Linked DNA regions of Homo sapiens: region 2 is linked to region 1. The links are contacts of gene promoters, found by promoter capture Hi-C in human tissues and cell types (Jung and others, 2019). All regions are on one chromosome and are shown on one strand. Each heading gives the region's core, a stretch centred on a gene start or on the middle of the fragment in contact. The rest is flanking DNA. Distances are from core to core; before and after follow the strand shown. Region 1 holds the start of ZFHX2 (zinc finger homeobox 2). Region 2 holds the start of MIR208A (microRNA 208a).

Region 1 (4,863 bases), core at 1,097-3,596:
GATGTTTGGCCTTCCGCAAGCTACTCCACTTTCCTAAGCATCTGCTTTTTTTTTTTTTTTTTTTTTTTTTTTGAGACAGAGTCTCACTCTGGCGTCTCAGCTCACTGCAACCTCTGCCTCCTGGGTTCAAATGATTCTCCCGCCTCAGCCTCCTGAGTAGTTGGGACTACAGGCACGTGCCACCCCACCCTCCTAATTTTTGTTTGTTTGTTTGTTTGAGACGGAGTCTCGCTTTGTCGCCCAGGCTGGAGTGTAGTGGCGCCATCTCGGCTCACTGCAAGCTCCGCCTCCAGGGTTCATGCCATTCTCCTGCCTCAGCCTCCCAAGTAGATGGGACTACAGGTGCCCACCACCATGCCCGGCTAATTTTTTGTAATTTTAGTAGAGATGGGGTTTTACCCTGTTAGTCAGGATGGTCTCGATCTCCTGATCTTGTGATCCACCCGCCTCCACCTCCCAAAGTGCTGGGATTACAGGTGTGAGCCACCACGCCCGGCCTGTTTTTGGTTTTGAGACGGAGTTTCACTCTTGTTGCCCAGGCTGGAGTGCAATGGTGTGATCTTGGCTCACCGCAACCTCTGCCCCCCGGGTTCAAGCGATTCTTCTGCCTCAGCCTCCCGAGTAGCTGGGATTACAGGTGCCCACCACCACGCCCAGCTAATTTTGTATTTTTAGTAGAGACAGGGTTTCACCATGTTGGTCAGGCTGGTCTCGAACTCCTGACCTCAGGTGATCTACCCACCTCAGCCTCCCAAAGTGCTGGGATTACAGGAGTGAGCCACCATGCCCGGCCAGCCTCTGCTTTTTCATTGAGAAAATGTGGCCTGCCTCACAGTTACCTGTGAGGATTCAGTCATAAACTGTCACATAGTATAAACTCAAAATGTTCATTTATCTCTCCTTTTTGTCATGTGAACTTCAGGGTTTTGTTGTGTTGTTTAAGAGAAGTAGGCTATAGCAGTTAGTATGGGCCCTGGAGCCAGACCATGGAGGTTTTTGAGTCCTGGCACTGTCACTTACTTATTGGCCATTGGACCTTGGGCCTGTTAATTCACTTGTTTGTGCCTTAGTTTCCTCAATAAATGAGACTATAATAGCATCTACCTCATGCTTGAGGTATTGAGAGGAGTAAACAATGTATGTAAAAGTGCTTGGAACTGTCCCTGTGCATTCAAGAAATCTTAAAAATTATTATTAGAATACAGGAGCGGCCGGGTGAGGTGGATCACCCCTATAATCCCAGGACTTTGGGAGGCTGAGGCCGGTGGATCACCTGAGGTCAGGAGTTCGAGACCAGCCTGGCTAAGATGGTGAAACCCCCGTCTCTACTAAAAATACAAAATTAGCAGGGCATGGTGGTGGGCACCTACAATCCCAGCTACTTGGGAGGCTGAGGCAGGAGAATCACTTGAACCTGGGAGGTGAAGGTTGCAGTGAGCCGGGATCATGCCACTGCACTGCAGCCTGGGCGACAGAGTGACTCTGTCTCAAGAAAAAAACAAACAAACAAAAAAACGGGCTGGGCGCGGTGGTGGTTCACACCTGTAATCCCAGCACTTTGGGAGGCCGAGGCAGGCGGATCACAAGGTCAGGAGTTCGAGACCAGCTTGACCAACGTGGTGAAACCCCGTCTCTACTAAAAATACAAAAATTAGCTGGGTGTGTTGATGCATGCCTGTAATCCCAGCTACTTAGGAGGCTGAGGTAGGAGAATCGCTTGAACCCGGTGGTGGAGGTTGCAGTGAGCCGAGATCGCACCACTGCACTCCAACCTGGGCGACTGAGTGAGACTCCGTCTCCAGAAAAAAAAAAAAAAAAAAAATTCAGGAGCACTTAATAAGCGATAAACTGAAGATGAGGAGGAGCCCGAACCTCCCCCAACCCAGCTCAGGGGACTATGTAACCGTGTGGAGGAGGCAGAAGCTCTCAGAGACTAAAGAGTAATTGCTGCGGTAGAGAAGGTTCTAGTACCCAATTTCGCGGGGGGAGATGGGGGAGGCGGAATAATAAGGCAGGAAGAAGAGAATGAAAAAAGGAGGCCTTGGGCGGCTCAGGGCTTGTTCTGAAGCTGATTTAAAACAAAACAACAAAACACATGTATGGTTTCTGCAGGCCACAGGATGAAGAGGAGAGGAGACGGAAAAGAGTTTAAAGGGGCCTGCCCTCTTTGCAGGCACCGGCTTGAACCTGGAGGCGACCTGGTGGGCTGGCCGGCCTGCCCCCGGCCCTGGGTCCCGCGAGGCAGGCGGGCGGGCGCGAACAGACTACAACTCCCGGCATGCGCCGCGGCGGGCGGGTCGCTGCACCTGCTCAGTGGGGCAGCCCCGGGCGCCTGGGTATTGATTATTCCATTGTGTGGGACGCCTAGACTCCAGCCAGTGAATGAGGCGGAGGAGTGAGGGCGAGGAGGAGGAGGAGGAGGAGGGCGAGGAGGAGAAGGAGGAGGAGGAGGAGGAGGCAGGGAGCGAGCGAGTGCCCAGGGTGAATCAATGGAAACCCCCTCACGAAGCCGGGGAAACACTTCAGCCGCAGCCAAATAGCATTGATTATTTTCCTTCACTTCCCTCACCGCCGTGAATTTATTTATTTATTTTTTTCCGTCTCCGTCCCTGACGCCCCGGAGCGAGCGCTGGAGGGAGGGAGGAGGAGGGGAAAAAAGAGGAATCAACACATCGGAGAAGTCCCTTCCAAGAGCCGCCCCCTCCCCTCCCCGCCTCGCGCTGCTCGGTGGCCGCGGTTCGACTCCCGTCCCTGCTTCCAGCTGAGGTGTAAGTGCATCGATTTCCGATGCTGCTGGGTTGGTTTTTTTCTCCTCTCCCTCTCTCTCTTCTTCCCTTCCTTGCTCTTTGGAAGCTCGAGACGGGAGAGGAGGCGCTTGGAGACTGCCGCTGGAGGGGACGGAGAGGGACGGGAAGGGGCTGGGGGAGGGGACAAGGACGGACGGACAGACAGACCGAGAGCCCTGGGAGATAGCAGACAGGGGTGTGGGAGGAAGAGGGCGTGCGCGAGGATGGGGGAAGAGAGATGCGGGGGTGGAGGGAGAAACGGGAACGGGAAAGGCAGAGGCCCGCCGGACAGACGAAGGGTATGGAAAGCCTAGACGGACCGCGCCGAGTTGGGCAGGGAGCGGGGATCCCGGGGGGAAGGGGAGGCCCGGTGAGTGTGAGGGCTCAGAGCTGTCAGCCTGGAGGGTCCTGGGTCTCGGCGGCCCCCCGCCGGCTGTGGGATGGGAGAACCGCGGCCGGCGGGCTGATGGATGGGCTAGCGCGCTGGGGCGTGGAGTGGGAGGGGACGTGGATACTCTCAGTCTTCGTTCGTTTTTGGCTGAAGTTGGGCTTTCCATTCCTTTTTTTGAAAGTGTTGAGTAGGTGAGGGGAGGCCATAAGCCCATTCAAGGTGAAGCGTGTCTGTCCTGCACGCCCATCCTACCACCCCCATCCGCTCGTCTGCCCCTCTGAGCAGCCCTATCATTTTCAAGCACAGGACCACGCTTCCTCGCTGTGCCTGTAGCCCCGCTGATCTCTGTCCATGTGTCCCTGACTTTTGGTTTTGCTGTTCTTCATCTTGTCTCTTCCATCCCATCCATCTCTGGATCTGTATGTCACTGTCTCCACTTGTGACCCTTCCCATCTGAGTGATCCTCTCCTTGTGTGTCTCTATCACTATGTGTCACGCCTTGGCTGCCTGTTCTGTCGGTCTAGGATTCCATGCCCTCTCCTTCAGAGTCTGTCTGGATATCTCTGGCCTTTTCAGGCTACTTTGGAATTTGCTTATCAGTCATGATTGTGGTGGTCACAGTCAGGGCCTGGAGGAGTGGGATGATGGAGCAAATGTGTCTTCGCCAAAGCCTCTAGTGCCTTCAGCATGGCCAGGACAGCCTCCTCTTCCACCATCACCAGAGAAGCTTTGGAACTTCCTAGCATTGTTGACTGTCCCCTTTGCCATGTGCCTGTCTCCCTCATCAGAACCTCACCTTCTGGTCTCATGCGTGTCATCTGCCTTTCCAGGAGCTTCGCACAACAAAACCTCTTCCCTGCTGACTTAATTTTACTCCCTTCCCCCACTGTATCATTGTATATTTTTTATTTCCCCATTTTGCTTCACCCCTTTTTTCCATCTGTTTCCCATGAGCTCTGAGTTTCCACCTTTGTTCCCATAATCTGCCCTCTTCCTACCTTTTCTTCTTGATCACCCTAAGTTTCTAGTTTCTTTTATCCCTTTTCCTCTTATCCAGCATTTTAACCCCAGCAGCAGAAAGTACCAGCAAGCAAAGGGCTGGGAGAGGTGTGGGGTATGGTTTGTGAAGGCACATAAACAGGCCAAGAAATAAATTTAATGAGCTTCCAGGGGCATATAACCCCTCCATCAGTCAGTGCCATTATGTCAGTTAACTGTCAACTTTGATTTTGTAAGGGGACATTCCCTAGGACTCTAAGCTCCACCCTGCCTGGTTGCCCCCCATCCTTCAGTTCATTCTAGATATCAGTTGCTTTTTCTTCACTTTTTAGTTCATCTTCTTCCTAGGCCCCTGCTACTATCATATTTAGATCCAGCACCATTTTTTTTTAATGAGGCAGTGTTTATTAGTGTAATAAAAGCTATCGTATGTAAGGAGCCAAGTTCATTTAGCCTGAAGAACAGTAAGGGTGGATAAAGGATCTGGAGAGTTTACCTTAGTTTTTAGCCCATCATTGTTTTTCCAAACCTCAGGAGCTTGGAAAGGTAAAAGGAGCAGGCAGACATGGGCAGAAGATGGACGATTTCAGAGGTGAACAGAATTAAAGAAAGAAAGGGGTGGTCGGTGCAATAAACACATGGGGTAGAGAAATGTATGACGTGAGGGATGTGCAAAGGAAGGGAGGA
Region 2 (5,014 bases), core at 2,515-5,014, 160 kb after region 1:
TCCCTCCAACAGCTGGAGGGATCCCTAGAGCAAGAGAAGAAGGTGCGCATGGACCTGGAGCGAGCAAAGCGGAAACTGGAGGGCGACCTGAAGCTGACCCAGGAGAGCATCATGGACCTGGAAAATGATAAACTGCAGCTGGAAGAAAAGCTTAAGAAGTAGGAGACTGTGGTGGCCAGGAGGGGCTAATGGAGGTGTCTGGCCTGGTAGATAGAGTGCAGGGTGCTGCGCCTCCACTGGCCACAGTTGCCTTGGGTATGCTGGGAATAAGGTCAATCACAGCCCTCTTCCGCCACTTTCTGGGCTGGCGAGGGGAGGGGGAGGTGCCGATTCTGGCATACTAAGGCCAAGAAGAGAATGAGCCCCAGAGGAAGGAAGGCTACCTGTCACTCCCCCACCCCCACCCTTCTCCTGCAGGAAGGAGTTTGACATTAATCAGCAGAACAGTAAGATTGAGGATGAGCAGGTGCTGGCCCTTCAACTACAGAAGAAACTGAAGGAAAACCAGGTGACTTTTTTTCCCAGTGCATGAAAGTGGGAGCTCAATAGCCCTGAGGTAACTGAGGCTGCAGCAGCTGCTTAGGGTTCTACACAATATCTGGAACTCCAGGCAGCCTCATAGACCCAACCATCCCTGACTTACAGGCGCTCAGGAACACTAGCCTTCCCCCATAGAGCAAGAATACATTACGTTAGCAAAACTGTTTGAGAAGGGGGACTCATACCTACTAAAGGGCTTCTCCTTCTGAGATCTGCTCTGCCTCAGGGACTTTCTACTCTAAGACAAATGATAGAGCTCTATTCTCCTCTAACCCTTCCTCTGGTAGTTCAGCCCTCTGAACGCAGGGTGAAAAAAAAAAAAGGCTTCAAGGAGCACCTTCCTGTGAGCTGCTCTGTTCATATTCTTCCCGGTACTAACCCCAGCCACTAACCCAGGCTGAGTCCCCATAGGGCACTCATGATAAGAGCCAATTCCAACAACTGTGAGCAAGTCACTTACCCTCCCTGATCCTCAGATTCTCTTCTCACCTGTAAAATGAGACTGACAATACCTACCACACAGGACCAGAGGGGATAATGTATTTGAAACCATTTTGTCAACTAGGAAATTCTATACAAGTATCATATTAATATAGCCCAATTTAGAGAAGTCAGCCAGCCACTAGCCTAAGAAGGTATTGTTTTGTCTTCTCAATGGCCTTCTCATTCCTCTGCAGCTCAAGATTTAGTGAACAGCCATAGTCTCCCTTAGCTTTAATGAACCTCAAACCCTAATGTGCTTTTAGTATCGGGTTTGTCAGAAGAGACCTGGAAGTCCACTGCCATCCCCATTATAGAGCTACAGAAGCTACATGGCCAGGTCTGGACATAGTGACCCCAAGGGCAACAGGAACTCGGCTACTGGGGCGGGACCTTGTCCTCTCACTTTGGGGCAGACTGTGGCTGGTAGAAAGAGGTAGTCTCCCCTCTGCACTTGAGGCCCATGGCCCAGGCTGCAAGTAATGTATGAACACAATTCCACTCCTCTGGGGCTGCACAGGGACTGGCCCGCCTTCATTAGTAATTTGCCCTCCCATCTTCTTGGATGCCCCTTCTGGGTTTTAGCTAGAATATCGGGCCATCCTCAGGTTCTTCTACCCTAGGTCTGGGCAACTTGTTTGGCCTCTTGGACACAGAATAACAGTCCTGTTAGTCTCATCAGCTCTCGGCAATAGGCTATGGCTCCTCCTTCATCCCCAAGATCTTGCTCAGAAGTCCCACCTTCTCCATCCTGGGAGCAGAGGCATGGTGGTCCTCTCTGCTGCTTGTAGGACCCATCCATGAACAGTCCATTAAAGCTGTCCATAACCCGAGGTGAAGGGATTTCCACTGAACCCCCGTTTTGCTCCTGGCTAGCCAGACAACAGATCAAAATGGTAGATACGATATTCTCCCAATTTAGTCAAGACCAAGGCTAAGGCCCAAAAAATGAGGTAAGGGCACTTAAAGAGGATAAGGAGATGAGGTGAAGAGGAGAGTAGCCTGCTAGCACTTTCCTGGCCTGGAAGGGAGCAATCATGTTGAAACCCAGCCCTGGGCATAAACACAGCAAGCCTGGGAGAGCAAGGAATATGGTTGATTGGACTTTGTGGTTAACTTGGAGAATTGCAAAGGTATCTGATTGTTTCGAGGCATGTTGTCACAAATATTTGTAAAATACAAGCACTCATTTTCCCGTCTTATGAATAGCGCAACAGAGCCTAGTGAATCTGGGGACTCTGAACTTCTTGATCTCACAGGATACCAGGATCCCCCTTCAACCACAGGTTCTCAGGATTTGGGGCTGCAGATGCTCACACTGGGTCTGAGATGCCCTTGGGAGCTTCAGCCAAATTCCTATTGATGGCCTATGCATTATAGGATGTTTAGTAGCATCCCTGGCCCCTACCCTCTAGATGCCAGTAGCAAGCCCCACCAAGACATGACAATCAGACATTGCCAACTGTTCCCTGGGGCACAAAATTGCCCCTAGTTGAGAACCACTGCTTGAGAGGAACCTAAGTTCCTGGTAGCTTTTCAGAGCCGGGGGGATTCCAGTGGAGGGGTCCAGGCGGTGGGTCTGAGCCCTTTGTGTCTGACCCAGGCACGCATCGAGGAGCTGGAGGAGGAGCTGGAGGCCGAGCGCACCGCCAGGGCTAAGGTGGAGAAGCTGCGCTCAGACCTGTCTCGGGAGCTGGAGGAGATCAGCGAGCGGCTGGAAGAGGCCGGCGGGGCCACGTCCGTGCAGATCGAGATGAACAAGAAGCGCGAGGCCGAGTTCCAGAAGATGCGGCGGGACCTGGAGGAGGCCACGCTGCAGCACGAGGCCACTGCCGCGGCCCTGCGCAAGAAGCACGCCGACAGCGTGGCCGAGCTGGGCGAGCAGATCGACAACCTGCAGCGGGTGAAGCAGAAGCTGGAGAAGGAGAAGAGCGAGTTCAAGCTGGAGCTGGATGACGTCACCTCCAACATGGAGCAGATCATCAAGGCCAAGGCAGGCTCTGCTCGGCCTCCCCTCGCCCTCTCCCCTGCACAGCGGAGCCTCCCCCATGCCTTCTCTCTCTGTCTGCCATCTCCCTTGTCATTCTCATTCTCTTCATCACCCTTTGGTCTCTCTTCCTGTCTCCCCTGCCCCTCTCTGGCTCTCCTCACCCTCTCTATCTCTTCATGTTCCTCCTTTCTTTAATTCAAGTCTCTCTTCAGACTGCGCCCTCCCACACCTTCTGTGTCCCCCTCCTGCCCTCTGGCATTCCCCATCTCTGACCCTCTCTTCCTTCCTCTGGTCGACTCAGCCCCTCCCACACTCACCCTTCCTGTCTTGCTTCCTGAAGGCAAACCTGGAGAAAGTGTCTCGGACGCTGGAGGACCAGGCCAATGAGTACCGCGTGAAGCTAGAAGAGGCCCAACGCTCCCTCAATGATTTCACCACCCAGCGAGCCAAGCTGCAGACCGAGAATGGTGGGTGCCCCTAACCAACCCCCTGCCTAGGGCAGGACATGACTTGTGAAATGGCCCACAAGCCCCTCATTTCACCTCCAGGAGAGTTGGCCCGGCAGCTAGAGGAAAAGGAGGCGCTAATCTCGCAGCTGACCCGGGGGAAGCTCTCTTATACCCAGCAAATGGAGGACCTCAAAAGGCAGCTGGAGGAGGAGGGCAAGGTGAGGCCCAGTGGGGAGGGTGGGCAGGCTTGATGGCAGCCCTGGGGCAATTCATCTCAGTGCCAGAAATGGAGCCTGGAGCTGGAAAGAGTCCTCTGCAAGGGAAAGACCCTCCAGTCTAGGTTCTGCCCTGCAGCTAAGCGTCATTTAATGCCTCTTTTCTTATTCGTAAGGGGATGGGGTGAGCAGACTGGGAAACTCCTCAAACAGTGAGGTGCCACATCAGCCCACATGGTGAATAAGGCTGGGCTTGGTTGAAGTACTACATAAGAAGAGAATCTAGAGAATGGGGCACAGGGAGTCCCTCCCACCTCCTGGTGCCCCCCCCCCTCCCCAGGCGAAGAACGCCCTGGCCCATGCACTGCAGTCGGCCCGGCATGACTGCGACCTGCTGCGGGAGCAGTACGAGGAGGAGACAGAGGCCAAGGCCGAGCTGCAGCGCGTCCTGTCCAAGGCCAACTCGGAGGTGGCCCAGTGGAGGACCAAGTATGAGACGGACGCCATTCAGCGGACTGAGGAGCTCGAAGAGGCCAAGTGAGCTCCAGATACCCCCTTAACCTGACTCTCAGAGAGGAAGGGGCGAGAGGACCTGGGGTGGGGACAGGCAAAGTGGTCATGAGACGGAAGTGGAAGAGACAGGAGGAACTCGGAGGGCAACAGAAGTGCTTGGAAGAAAGCCTGAACTCTTTGCTCTGTGAACTCTGGCTGGCCCTGACCCACTTCCTGTGACGGGCGAGCTTTTGGCCCGGGTTATACCTGATGCTCACGTATAAGACGAGCAAAAAGCTTGTTGGTCAGAGGAGCTACCGTCGATCAGCCTGTGTGGGGGGTGAGGGCAGGGGGCACTGACACCCAGATGCCACTGCAGGTAGGGAGGACGCCTGGGCAGCCCGTGCTGGCGGACTCTGTTCCAGGCATGAGCAGGCTCAGCTCCTGCTAGGCTGGACTTACGGTGTCTCAAGGAGATATAGGGAGGGGGTGGAAGGAGGTCCACCCAAGGCTCCAGTGTTGCCCAGTAGAGTCACACACACACCCTCCACCCTCACCTGGGCAGAAAGAAGCTGGCCCAGCGGCTGCAGGATGCCGAGGAGGCCGTGGAGGCTGTTAATGCCAAGTGCTCCTCACTGGAGAAGACCAAGCACCGGCTACAGAATGAGATAGAGGACTTGATGGTGGACGTAGAGCGCTCCAATGCTGCTGCTGCAGCCCTGGACAAGAAGCAGAGAAACTTTGACAAGGTGGACCATGGGCGGGGGCCGCAGCCAGCATGCAGGGCAAGGGGGCATGAGGGGTTCAGTGAGAGGCCAAAGGCAACCTCCTTGGAGGTGGAGGAGGAG

The links. The method cuts DNA at HindIII sites, captures the fragments that hold promoters and counts their contacts. A contact is called where the count stands out against the background at its distance.
Region 2: a contact is called between a fragment that was not itself captured here and the fragment with the promoter of ZFHX2 in region 1, in 1 of the 25 tissues and cell types used here (H1 embryonic stem cells).

Annotation. Positions count from the first base shown.
Region 1 is chr14:23,549,248-23,554,110 of GRCh38, reverse strand. ZFHX2 (zinc finger homeobox 2) reads left to right here and starts at 2,346. Exons shown (of 10, transcript NM_033400.3): 1 at 2,346-2,768. It also overlaps a transcript of THTPA not described here. RefSeq lists enhancers at 1,993-2,042, 2,892-3,554 and a silencer at 2,173-2,412. The HindIII fragment of the contact is 20,255 bases long and covers 1-4,863 here.
Region 2 is chr14:23,388,056-23,393,069 of GRCh38, reverse strand. It overlaps MYH6 (myosin heavy chain 6), which reads left to right. Exons shown (of 39, transcript NM_002471.4): 24 at 13-158; 25 at 418-508; 26 at 2,624-3,013; 27 at 3,351-3,477; 28 at 3,559-3,677; 29 at 4,015-4,211; 30 at 4,732-4,915. It overlaps MIR208A (microRNA 208a), which reads left to right and starts at 4,404; the gene lies at 4,404-4,474. RefSeq lists enhancers at 2,919-3,522, 3,523-4,126. The HindIII fragment of the contact is 7,544 bases long and covers 1-5,014 here.